2 separate regions of the Homo sapiens genome follow, and region 1 is linked to region 2. The links are contacts of gene promoters, found by promoter capture Hi-C in blood cells and fetal thymus (Javierre and others, 2016). All regions are on one chromosome and are shown on one strand. Each heading gives the region's core, a stretch centred on a gene start or on the middle of the fragment in contact. The rest is flanking DNA. Distances are from core to core; before and after follow the strand shown. Region 1 overlaps KCNAB1 (potassium voltage-gated channel subfamily A regulatory beta subunit 1). Region 2 holds the start of KCNAB1-AS1 (KCNAB1 antisense RNA 1).

Evidence for each region. Contacts are between HindIII fragments. The CHiCAGO score rates a contact against its expected background, and 5 or more counts as called.
Region 1: a contact is called between a fragment that was not itself captured here and the fragment with the promoter of KCNAB1-AS1 in region 2, in 1 of 17 cell types (endothelial precursors). The highest score is 7.1, in endothelial precursors.

The regions. Positions count from the first base shown.
Region 1 is chr3:156,201,293-156,206,347 of GRCh38, reverse strand. The region is part of intron 1 of KCNAB1 (potassium voltage-gated channel subfamily A regulatory beta subunit 1); the gene reads right to left. Among named protein-coding and RNA genes, the nearest start is that of KCNAB1-AS2, 24 kb to the left of the region's middle. The HindIII fragment of the contact is 1,051 bases long and covers 1,159-2,209 here.
Region 2 is chr3:156,445,457-156,450,541 of GRCh38, reverse strand. KCNAB1-AS1 (KCNAB1 antisense RNA 1) reads left to right here and starts at 3,606. Exons shown (of 3, transcript NR_046618.2): 1 at 3,606-3,757; 2 at 4,446-4,508. All of the region lies in intron 2 of KCNAB1 (potassium voltage-gated channel subfamily A regulatory beta subunit 1), which reads right to left. It overlaps LOC124906298 (a long non-coding RNA gene), which reads left to right. Exons shown (of 5, transcript XR_007096140.1): 5 at 692-1,447. The HindIII fragment of the contact is 8,289 bases long and covers 1-5,085 here.

The sequences.
Region 1 (5,055 bases), core at 435-2,934, 240 kb after region 2:
GGTTCATGCTAATTGGACTGGCTCAGATCACCCTTGAGCCAGTCACTGGAGCCAGGAAAGTGAAATATTCTTAAGTCAGTGAGAGCCATCATTTGGGTTGAGTGTGAGGTCAAGCCAATCCCCATAACCTGACAATGGAGGAGAGACAGATCCCCAGGGATCTGAGAACCACTGGTCAAAGAAAGAGGGAATGAATGCTAGGGAACCATCATCAAATAAAGATACGTGCAAATGCTCCAGAGGCCAAAAACTGGGGAGTGCAAACTCCCCAAATGGGCTTGGTGATGTTTTACCTGATTCTTGAAGGTAGAATATGATAGGACAGTGCACAGTAATGTAGTAAAGGGGCAAAGGTGATCCCGGCAAACAAAACAGCATGTACAAGTGCACAGAGGCATAAAAGAGCATGACGTCTTCTAGGAACAACAGGACTATCCATGTGCCTGGACTGAAGGGCCTGGGGAAAGTCTCAGATTGCACAGATGATTGAGACCACTTTTTGCAATGGTAAAGATTTCAGTTCTTATCCTTAAAGGCATTAAAGCATCTAGTCAGGGTATTGACAAGGCCAGATCCATATTTTAGAAGTCAATGTAGGACAGACAATGGGGATTAGAGGAGGGCAGAGTCTAAAAGCACCTCTTCAGAGGCCACTGAATTTGGGGGCAAGAGATTATGTCTCAGTGCAGAGGAAGGAGCGGGTAGTTTAGGGAGAGAGCTAGGTGTTAGAAACAACTGGACTTGATGATCGATCGGACCTGACAACCAATGTATAGGGGAGAAAAGAAAATGAAAGTAACTGAATTTACCTGCATACTAACAAGGATGTTCTGTCCCATGCCAGGTGTTCCTACTGTTCATCTCATATTTTTTGTGCAAATTCACTTTTATATTTATTAACGCCATCAAATTCTATTACACCTGAAGCTTCCACTGGCTTAATTCACACATGCAAAGCAAAGTGGAATAGTGAAATAATTTCACTATTATTTATTGAAATAATAAATTCAAACCAAAAAATATTTTGGCTTAAATTAAAACACGGAAACCAAAAATTCATACCAAGGTGGATGTTTAAATGTTTTTTTCATTATCTGAATAACTGACTTATGGACACAGATATAGAACCAATATAGCTCAATCTATGAAAATTAAGCTTGAGAAAGGAAACTTGGAATTTTGCCTTCTCCGTGAAAATGTTCTTTCTAAGAATCCCTTCTTTACCCCAGAGTTGGCAAAGAAAAGAAGTCTTCTTACAATTATCTTTTCAAGTAATTTACAAAACTCACTTAATATAATTATCAATTGCCAAGGTATTTAAGAGATATATAATTTTTGTGTTGTACATGTTGGCTATTTGATAGAAATGTTTTCTCTTGTGTTTGAATACCACAATTTTTAAAAAAATAAGAAAATCAATTGACATCTGATTCGAGTCCATCATCCTAGCTGCCCAACTTAGCTTGCCCCTTATTTTTATTTATTTATTTTTGTTGTTGTTGTTATTGTTGTTGTTGAGACAGAGTCTCACTCTGTCGCCCAGACTGGAGTGCAGTGGCACAATCCGGTTCATTGCAACCTCCGGCTCCTGGGTTCCAACGATTCTCGTGCCTCAGCCTCCTGAGTAGCTGGGACTACAGGCATGTGCCACCACATCCAGTTAATGTTTTGTTATTTTTAGTAGAGATGGGGATTCACCATGTTAGCCAGGCTGGTCTCAAATTCCTGGCCTCAAGTGATCCACCCGCCTCGGCCTCCCAAAGTGCTGAGATTACAGGTGTGAGCCACCATGGCCGGCCAGCTTGCCCCTTATTTCTATTCAAATGGATAGAGATAGAGAATTTATGTCAGTTCTAAACAGAGGGAAGTGTCTCTTCTATATGCTGGTAACTTTGAAAATGCCTATAAGATAAAATACATGTAAGACTAGATTTTAAAAGGAGCCTACCAAACCCTGAGTCATAACCTAAAAAGTAATTTCCCACCTGGGAAGTTAGTGAATGAGACCCTGAGCCAAACCTCTACAAGTGACAGGAGCTGGAGACAAGAGAAGGCCATGCAGCGATGAGTAGGAGGGCAAATCTCAGTCCCGCCCCACCTGGGAGTGCATGGCTCCTAATAATTCAGTAAATATAGTGGTTGGAAAGTGCTCAGCTAACTTATGAATGTAATCGTCATAGAAAATAAACTTTTTTGGACAAGTGAAGCTTTCAGCCTTACAGCTTAAATAAACAATAGCTGTCTTCCTACTCCCACTGACATCTTGGTTTCTACTCTAAGCTCTTCTTTTCACCCTGTGCCCAGACCTGAAATATTGGAGAAAGACCCAAATAAGTATGATCTGGACCTATCTGCAGTCCCAGCAATGAGCAAAAGATGATTCCCCCTGATGCACAAATGAAAAACAATCACTGAATATATGAGTAATCACAGAAGTTTAGAAGAAGATCTGAAGAATCAAAGCAAGAAAGAATACAAAACTATAAAAGAGACTTGCTGAAAAGACAGAGTAAACTTTAGAAAATATTATTTCTGTAAGATTTGAAAAACATATATTTGATAGAAAGAATCTGGATTGGAAAAAATACTTTCAGATAAAAAACTAATTTACTTAATTTAAGAATATATCTTTGGCAGCAAATAGCCTTTGGGTACTGCAGAAAACAAACATGATTTGACGGCAGTATCAAAAAACTCTCCCAAGAGAAACATAACAATAACTTGTATTTAAGAATGTATGCATTCCTAGCATTCTGACAAGTATTTTGAACATGTGTTAACGTATTTCATTCTTTATAGTATTATTTTAAGCAAGTATTATTATTTTTATTACTATTCACATTTTATAGTTGGGGAAAACGGTCCATAGGAAGGTTAAGTATGTTGCCCAGCATCACATCATTAATAATGTGGGCTGGAGCTGAGTTTTAAACCCAATGCTATCTTACTCTAGAGCCCATGCTTTTGTTTCAGGAGTGAGCTCCTCTAGATCATCAAGAGACAGAAAGCATTTCTATGCTATCTAAATTATGCTAAATCAGAGATCAGCAAACTTTTATAGGACCAGAGAATAAATATTTTCAGCCTTGTGTACCATACAATCTCTATTGCAACTACTCAACCCTGCCACTGCAGTGGGAAAGCAGCCACAGGCAATACATTAATGGATGGTCATGAATATCTCCCAGTGAAATTTTATTTGTAAAAGCAAATGATGGGAATAATTTGTCATGTGGGTCATACCATAGTTTACCAACTGTGCATACAAAAGATGAAAAGATCATCTTTTGTGTGTATGTTAAAATATCACACCACTAATACCAAAACTTGTCAAAGATAATCTAAAAACTTTAAAAAATTATCTCACTATAACCCTAGCGGTAAAAACTACAAATACAATTTTTGCAAATTAAAACTTATAGCAAGTAAAAGACTACTACACAGTGACCAAGTAGAGTTTATTTCAGTAATGTAAGGAGGTTTTTACTCCAACTTTAAAAAATCTGTTATTAGTAGTAATCTAAATAAGTGAGATATTATTTATTCAGAATTTTTTTTCAGAATTCAACATTGATTTCCAATTTAAAAAATAATACCACTGGCACAGTAGGAATAAACAATATTACCTTAACATGACAGACAATATCTATGACCAAAAAACTGTTGACATTATAAATAAAACTATGATTAATATACTAAGGGCACTGAGTGGACAAAGTAGACAACATGCAAGAACAGATAGGTAGGGTAAGCAGAGAGACGGAAATTCTAAGAAAGAACTGAAAAGAAATGCCAGGGATTCCTGCTCCAAGATGGCTGACTAGACACAGCCAGAAAGAACATCTCCCACTGAGGGACAGGGACATTAGGAAGACTGGTGCACTCCTAGCAGATCGTTAGAGAAAAGGCGTTGAGAGTGGATGGAGGGAAGACACAGTTGCTGGGCTGAAGGAGGAGGAAGCCGAGAACACTGCAGAGGGCTACACCCAAGACTTGTTCCTGGCCCCCAGTGACTTCTGTGGAAGGGGTGAATGGGTAAGTTGAAGAGGCAAGAAGCAACCCACTCTCACCACAGGCCTCTGGAATCCCAGCAGGAGGAGACTCCTCAACCATGACAGACACTTGAGTTGGCAGGGAGAGCTGCTTAGAGAAGTGGTAGGAGCAGAACTCCAGCCAGTGTTGAGCCTAGAGGGTTTGGTGTGGAAGCATCTGTAGCAGAGCATGGCCAGGGACAGCCATCCCCACAGGCTCAACTTGCTCCCACAGGAGACTTTAGCCCCAGAGAAACTATTGTACCTGAACTCTGCAGGGCAGTCTTGCCAATGAGATGAGCCCTGTCTGACCTGAGAACCCCTTGGTCTGCTCGCCTCTGTGGGAGCCCCAGCCCAATTGTGCCTGCTTACAATAAAGCACCCAGATACCTCCTGGGGGCCTAGATCATAGCTCCTGTGCTGGCAAATGCACCTGACCAGCAGAATGCTCCAGCAAAGCAGCCCTCATGGACATGCACTAGCCTGCCTGAGCCCTCCCCACACCGCAGCCTCCCACATGCCACTTTACATACCTGCACTCACCAACGGCCACCTCTCATGTGTGTATGGATCCTTGCCTTCCCTTCTCCACCAGCATGAGTGTATGCATGCAGCCTACCATGCCACTGCTGCCGGCATGAGTGCACTGCACTTCCCCTCCCCTGCCGCAATGTCATTGTCATCAGAGCATTGGTGGACATGGAGCCTGCCAGCCCTGCCCCTGCTAGTCCCCCGCCCCTGCGCTGACACTGCTGCTGGAGCAGAACTAGGCAAGGAAAACAGCAGACCCACTCACCCTGACTATGCTACAGTGGACCCACTCACCCTAAACTATGAACTTTGAGTGATAATGATGTGTTGGTGTGGATTCACTGATTGTAACAAATTAACTGTTGTGTGTGGGATGTGGATAGTGAAAGAGATTGTTGGGGTGGGGAGGATAGGGTATATGGGAACTTTCTGTGGTTTCTGCTGAATTTTGCTATTAATCTGAAGCTGTTCTAAAATTATATTTATTAATAAA
Region 2 (5,085 bases), core at 2,357-4,856:
GTCTAATGAGCAACTTTGTAGCTTGGTATGTTAAAAATAAGATTGAGAACTTTCAGGACAAGTTAATTTATGGGTGGCATTTTCTCTTGCAGCAAATGAGAACACAGATATAGAGAATAGCACACTGTTAACTATATTTATTTGTGGTGTGGTGAGAATTTTGAAGGGGTCAAGGAACTTCAGAAACAGGAGCCCATGAAAGGCAAAACATCAGGAAATGGCTGACTCTGTGTTATGAAAAAGGTCTCAGACCATTTGGATGTAGAATGCATTGGTCAAAGTCACCAAGTGTTATAGATGGAGCTCTCAGGATGTGTGGAGTTAATGTCAGGCCGGTCAAGTAACAGCCCATAGGTGGCACTATTTTGTAGGTACACTATCCCCAAGTCCATTAATTTCCTCATTCATCAGAAATTGCTTTGGGCACAAAGCTAAAATGGGAGAAGCCATGGATTCAGTAATTAATACCACTAATTGGCTATTCTTCTATGTCTCTGAGCAAAATCAGGTCAACATTTGCTTAATGAATTTGCTGGCTTACTTGCACTGTGGTGCAGAAGAGATTTTTTTAACTGTTAATGTCATCACAGGGGATAGCCCTATCTCTGCTTAGCAGTGAAGATTAGCCCAAAGTCCTGAGCTTTTTGCTGACTCTACAACTTATCTATATTTTTTGACTATTTTTCTATAGGTACAGTCACAAGTATTGCACAAATGTTTCATTTGTGAGCTTCTCTCCGTCCAGATAAAGGTAACTTTTTGGGAAATTCATTTGTAAAGGAATAATTTCATCTACTTTCCTACATTGAGATCAGTTTCCAGAAATGAAGATACCATAAAATTTATTCTCTAAAACTATGCCATTGAAAACCAAATTCTAAAAATGTTCTCAGACTTCAAACTTTATGAAAATGAAATAACATTATTTAGCTTACCTTTCTTATTTTTTGATAGCACCTATGTTGGGCTATGATTAGACATTATCAAACTGTAATGCAAAAACGGTACTGAAGTCTATTTGAAGTCTAAGTAGAGCAATGCTGAAAGCCAGGATTGTACACACATTTTGGAAGAGGTGATTCTAGATATAAGAACCATTTACAGTAGTAATTCCATCCATGTTAGGAAGAGCCTATGTTTAGGCTCGACTCCAAAATTAATCTGAAAAAAACCAACCACCCTCCTGGCATAAGTGTTTAAGGCTGCATTCTGTACATCACAGTGAAAAATACAGGGCCTGAAACATGTTTTGGTACAGAAAAAAAGATGTGAGGTTTCTGATTCCAAGTCAAAGCAGTAATGAATTATGAAATAAAAATATAGCAATAATTGTTTTCCTTTTTCAATGTTTTTAAAATTTAATATAAAATAGCATATGAATATTATATATATTTACATTATTACATACCTATTCCATAATTTAATAAGAATAAAGTGTTTGCTTCCATTTCTTGGAGTTTGTCATTCTTATATTCAGCTTATTTTGTTCATGATGACTACCTCCCTGGCCCTTCGACACTTGCTACTCATTTGTTTTCTACCTACTTGTTTATAGAGTTTATATCTTTTACTAGAGAGTAAGCTGTCTGAGGGCTACACTTTTATTTCATTCGTCTTTGCATCTCCACAGCCCTAGAATAGAAGTGGGTTCTTAGTACATGGTCAGTAAGTGTTGGTTAAATTGAATTACATTGCCTTGTTGACTGTTATTAATCTTTAAAATTTTGGGATAATTTCCTACCAAACAAACATCTTTATTATGACTTATAGAAAAATGAATATTTCCTACCAAACAAACATCTTTATTATGACTTATAGAAAAATGAATAATGCTTATCAATAATCTTTAGTTCTTCTAGTCTCTAGATGATTGAAATGTTTCTCCCTATCCCTGGGTACCCACCCAGCTATGCCCCTTTGTGGAAAAAGGCCAAGGGAAAGTCTTTCTCCTTGGCTGAAATGCCTCCAGCAAGCAGATGGGTAAGTGGCCCAGTGTAGGTGGGGTCCACTTTCTACTCCTGAGGAGGAGTTGCCTCTCACAGACAGGACACATCCCCTCCTGCTGGAGAGGAACGGGGCAACAGCCTTCTAGACAGAAGAACTCTGTTTCTATGATTTTATTTTCCACTGTGCTCCACTCCAGAAGAACTAAGGTGACTTGTTAGTTAATATGATTCTCAAAAACCCTCTGTGACAGTTTTCTTAACCATTTTTCTCCCTCTAATGAGAACATGCTTTCCTGAGACCTAGAATGGCATACAATTATTTCACTGTGTAATCTCAAATTAGTGGGATGTTATTTACAAGATGATTTTACTAAACTGACAATTGTTATTTCTAACCTTTTAAAAGAAGGGAGAGTATAAAGATAACTCTTTGAACTATTTTGTGTCTTCTGATTAAACCCCTTTATGGACCAAGGAATATTTGCTTTGAAAACCTGTGTTAGGTTCCTTGGAGTAAATCTACCATAGCACAGAAAAATGATGGATGAAAGGTAAAAAGAAGAAAACTGCCCACCACACACATCTATCTTGGTTACCTCATTATCGTTTGGTGATTATCAGGGTAATTACTTCTTGCGTACTCATTCAAAAAACATGTTTACCATTTAAATGACTGCCTTGCTTGGAGTATAAAGGATATTTAGACATTTAGATGAGATCATTTTAATATCTTACATCACCATAGTGCAATTATCAAAACCAGGGAATTAACATGGGTACAGTACTAATACAATAGATCTTTTTGGAATTTCATTGTCTTTTTTTCTCTTCCAGGATCTTAAGCAGCATCCAACATTGCATTTAATTGTATGTTTTCTTAATCCACTCCAATATGTGACACTTCCTCAGTCTTTCCCTGTCTTTCATGATGTAGACACTTTTAAAAGTACTCATCAAGTATTCTGTAGAATGTCCCTTAATTTGGGTCTAAATCATCTTAAGGTTATAAAATTCTATAGTGCAGGTTGGTCTCCCTATGGTTTGAATATATTATTATAGCTATCAAGAAGAGAATATGTAAATGCAATTATAATATTAATATTTATTATGCCACAGTTAACATTTCCTCACTTTTTCATTCAACAAGTATTTATTGAGTCTACCGTGTGCCAGGTGTTGTACTTAGTTTATTGGGATGCAACAGTGAACAAAACTGGTAATTATTTCTCCCATCGTGAAACAGATATATGGGTAAAGAAAAAGGAATAACAAAAATAAGTTAAATATATAGTGTTTATAAATGTTAATTTTACAAATAAATAAAATGTAAAATAAAATACATAATGTTGACTGATGAATGTTAGAGAATCAATTTTATAAAGCAGGGATAGAGTATATGAAATGTCTAGGAATCAGTATTGAAATTTTAGATAGGGTGGCCAGATAAGATTCACTAAGAAAGGAGCTTTCAAGAAAAGACCTAAAGAAAGTGAAGGGGCTCACCAGGCGCTTATCTGGAGGGAGAGTGTTCCAGTTGCAGGGAGCAGTGAGGTAGGGGCTTGCTCAACATGAGCAAGGACAAGGAGGAAGCCAGTGTGGCCAGAGAAGAGAAGGTGAGGTTCATGGGGGCCAGATCATGTCATGTCAATCATAGGAAGGACCTAGGAAAGGCTAGTGAATAATTTTGAATACAGAAGTGACACAATCTGACTTTCTTTTAAAAGGAACACTCTGCTATTGTGCTAAGGATAGACTGCAGAGGCGAGGCTGAAACATGGGGGACCAGTTAGGAGGCTGTTCCCATAATCCAGGTGAGACATGACAGTGGTTTGGTCCAAGGTGGTGGTAGTGAGGATGGCGAGGAGTGGTTGAATTTTGGATAAATTTTGAAGGGGAAGCAATAGTATTTACTGGTGTAAAAGGATGTGTAGGGTGTGAGAGAAGGTGAAACCTCTAGGAGAACACCAAGGTCAGAGTATGGGGAGAATGGAGAGCCAATTCAACACATTTCAATATAGATTTAATGATTTTAAGTTTGGTAAACAGAGCACATGTGAACTGCAGCTTAATATAGTCAAGACTGACCAAATGTAGTCATAATTGAGAGACATTTCATCTATTTTGAGGTGTTAATCTGTTACGTCACTAAAGAATTTAAGATAAGAGGTTCAAACCCTAGGTCACATTGAAATTAAGCAATACACCAGGTAAAATTAACATGTTCAATGTCTCAGTTGTATAGTATAACCCCCAAAGAGGAGTGGAACTGGAGGTGGGAGCATCCCTCTAAATTGCGTATCCAGCAAGAAATAGGTGTAAGCCCAAAACTAGAGTTGATGTGGAGGAGGGAGCCCTAAGCTGTTGGCCACCACCTGAGATCCTTAAGCTCCAGGTCATTACCCTGGTGAGCATGTTCTCCTTTGAGCTATGGGCTGAGCCTTCCACTGAAAATCTAAACCTTCCCCATGCCTTTATGTCCAAATTCTACTTATTTTTCAGGACCCAGAACTCCAGCTTCAGAGTCCAGTGCTGCTAAGCCATAGTTTCTTAGCACTTCCCCTGGTGAGTTAAAGTATGTCTTGCTACATCATTAGAATTTTTTAGGTTCTCTTGCATTAACTCTGTGACTCTGAGAAACCTCCAATCTCTTGATTTCTTGTTTCCTTATGCACAAAATTAGGAACCTTGAGCTTCCTTCATCTCTATTATTTCATGATTCTATGGTTTCTTTGAAAGGAGAAGAAGTCATTCCATTTACTCTTCTCCTACCATTTTGAACTAACTGCTATTACCATATTGACCACACTATATTGTAACCGCATAGTTTATTTTTGGCTGTGACTTCCTCATTAGACTGCAACTATCCTGAGATCAGGGACTAAGTTTAAGTTTAATTTAAATTTTAAATTTTAGCCATTGCACTGGAGCCTGGCACAGGGTAAGTGAGTAATAATTGCTTGTTCAATCAGTAAGCATTCTCACCCTTACTAAGAAAGTGTCTCTAACCAGAGAGCATTTGTGGAACGTTGGTTGTTTTCCTCACTATCTTCAACAAGAGGTTTTTAACCACAACTGCGCATTTGAATATCCTGGGGGGATATAAATGGTATTGCTGACCTGATTCCTCACCACACCCCAG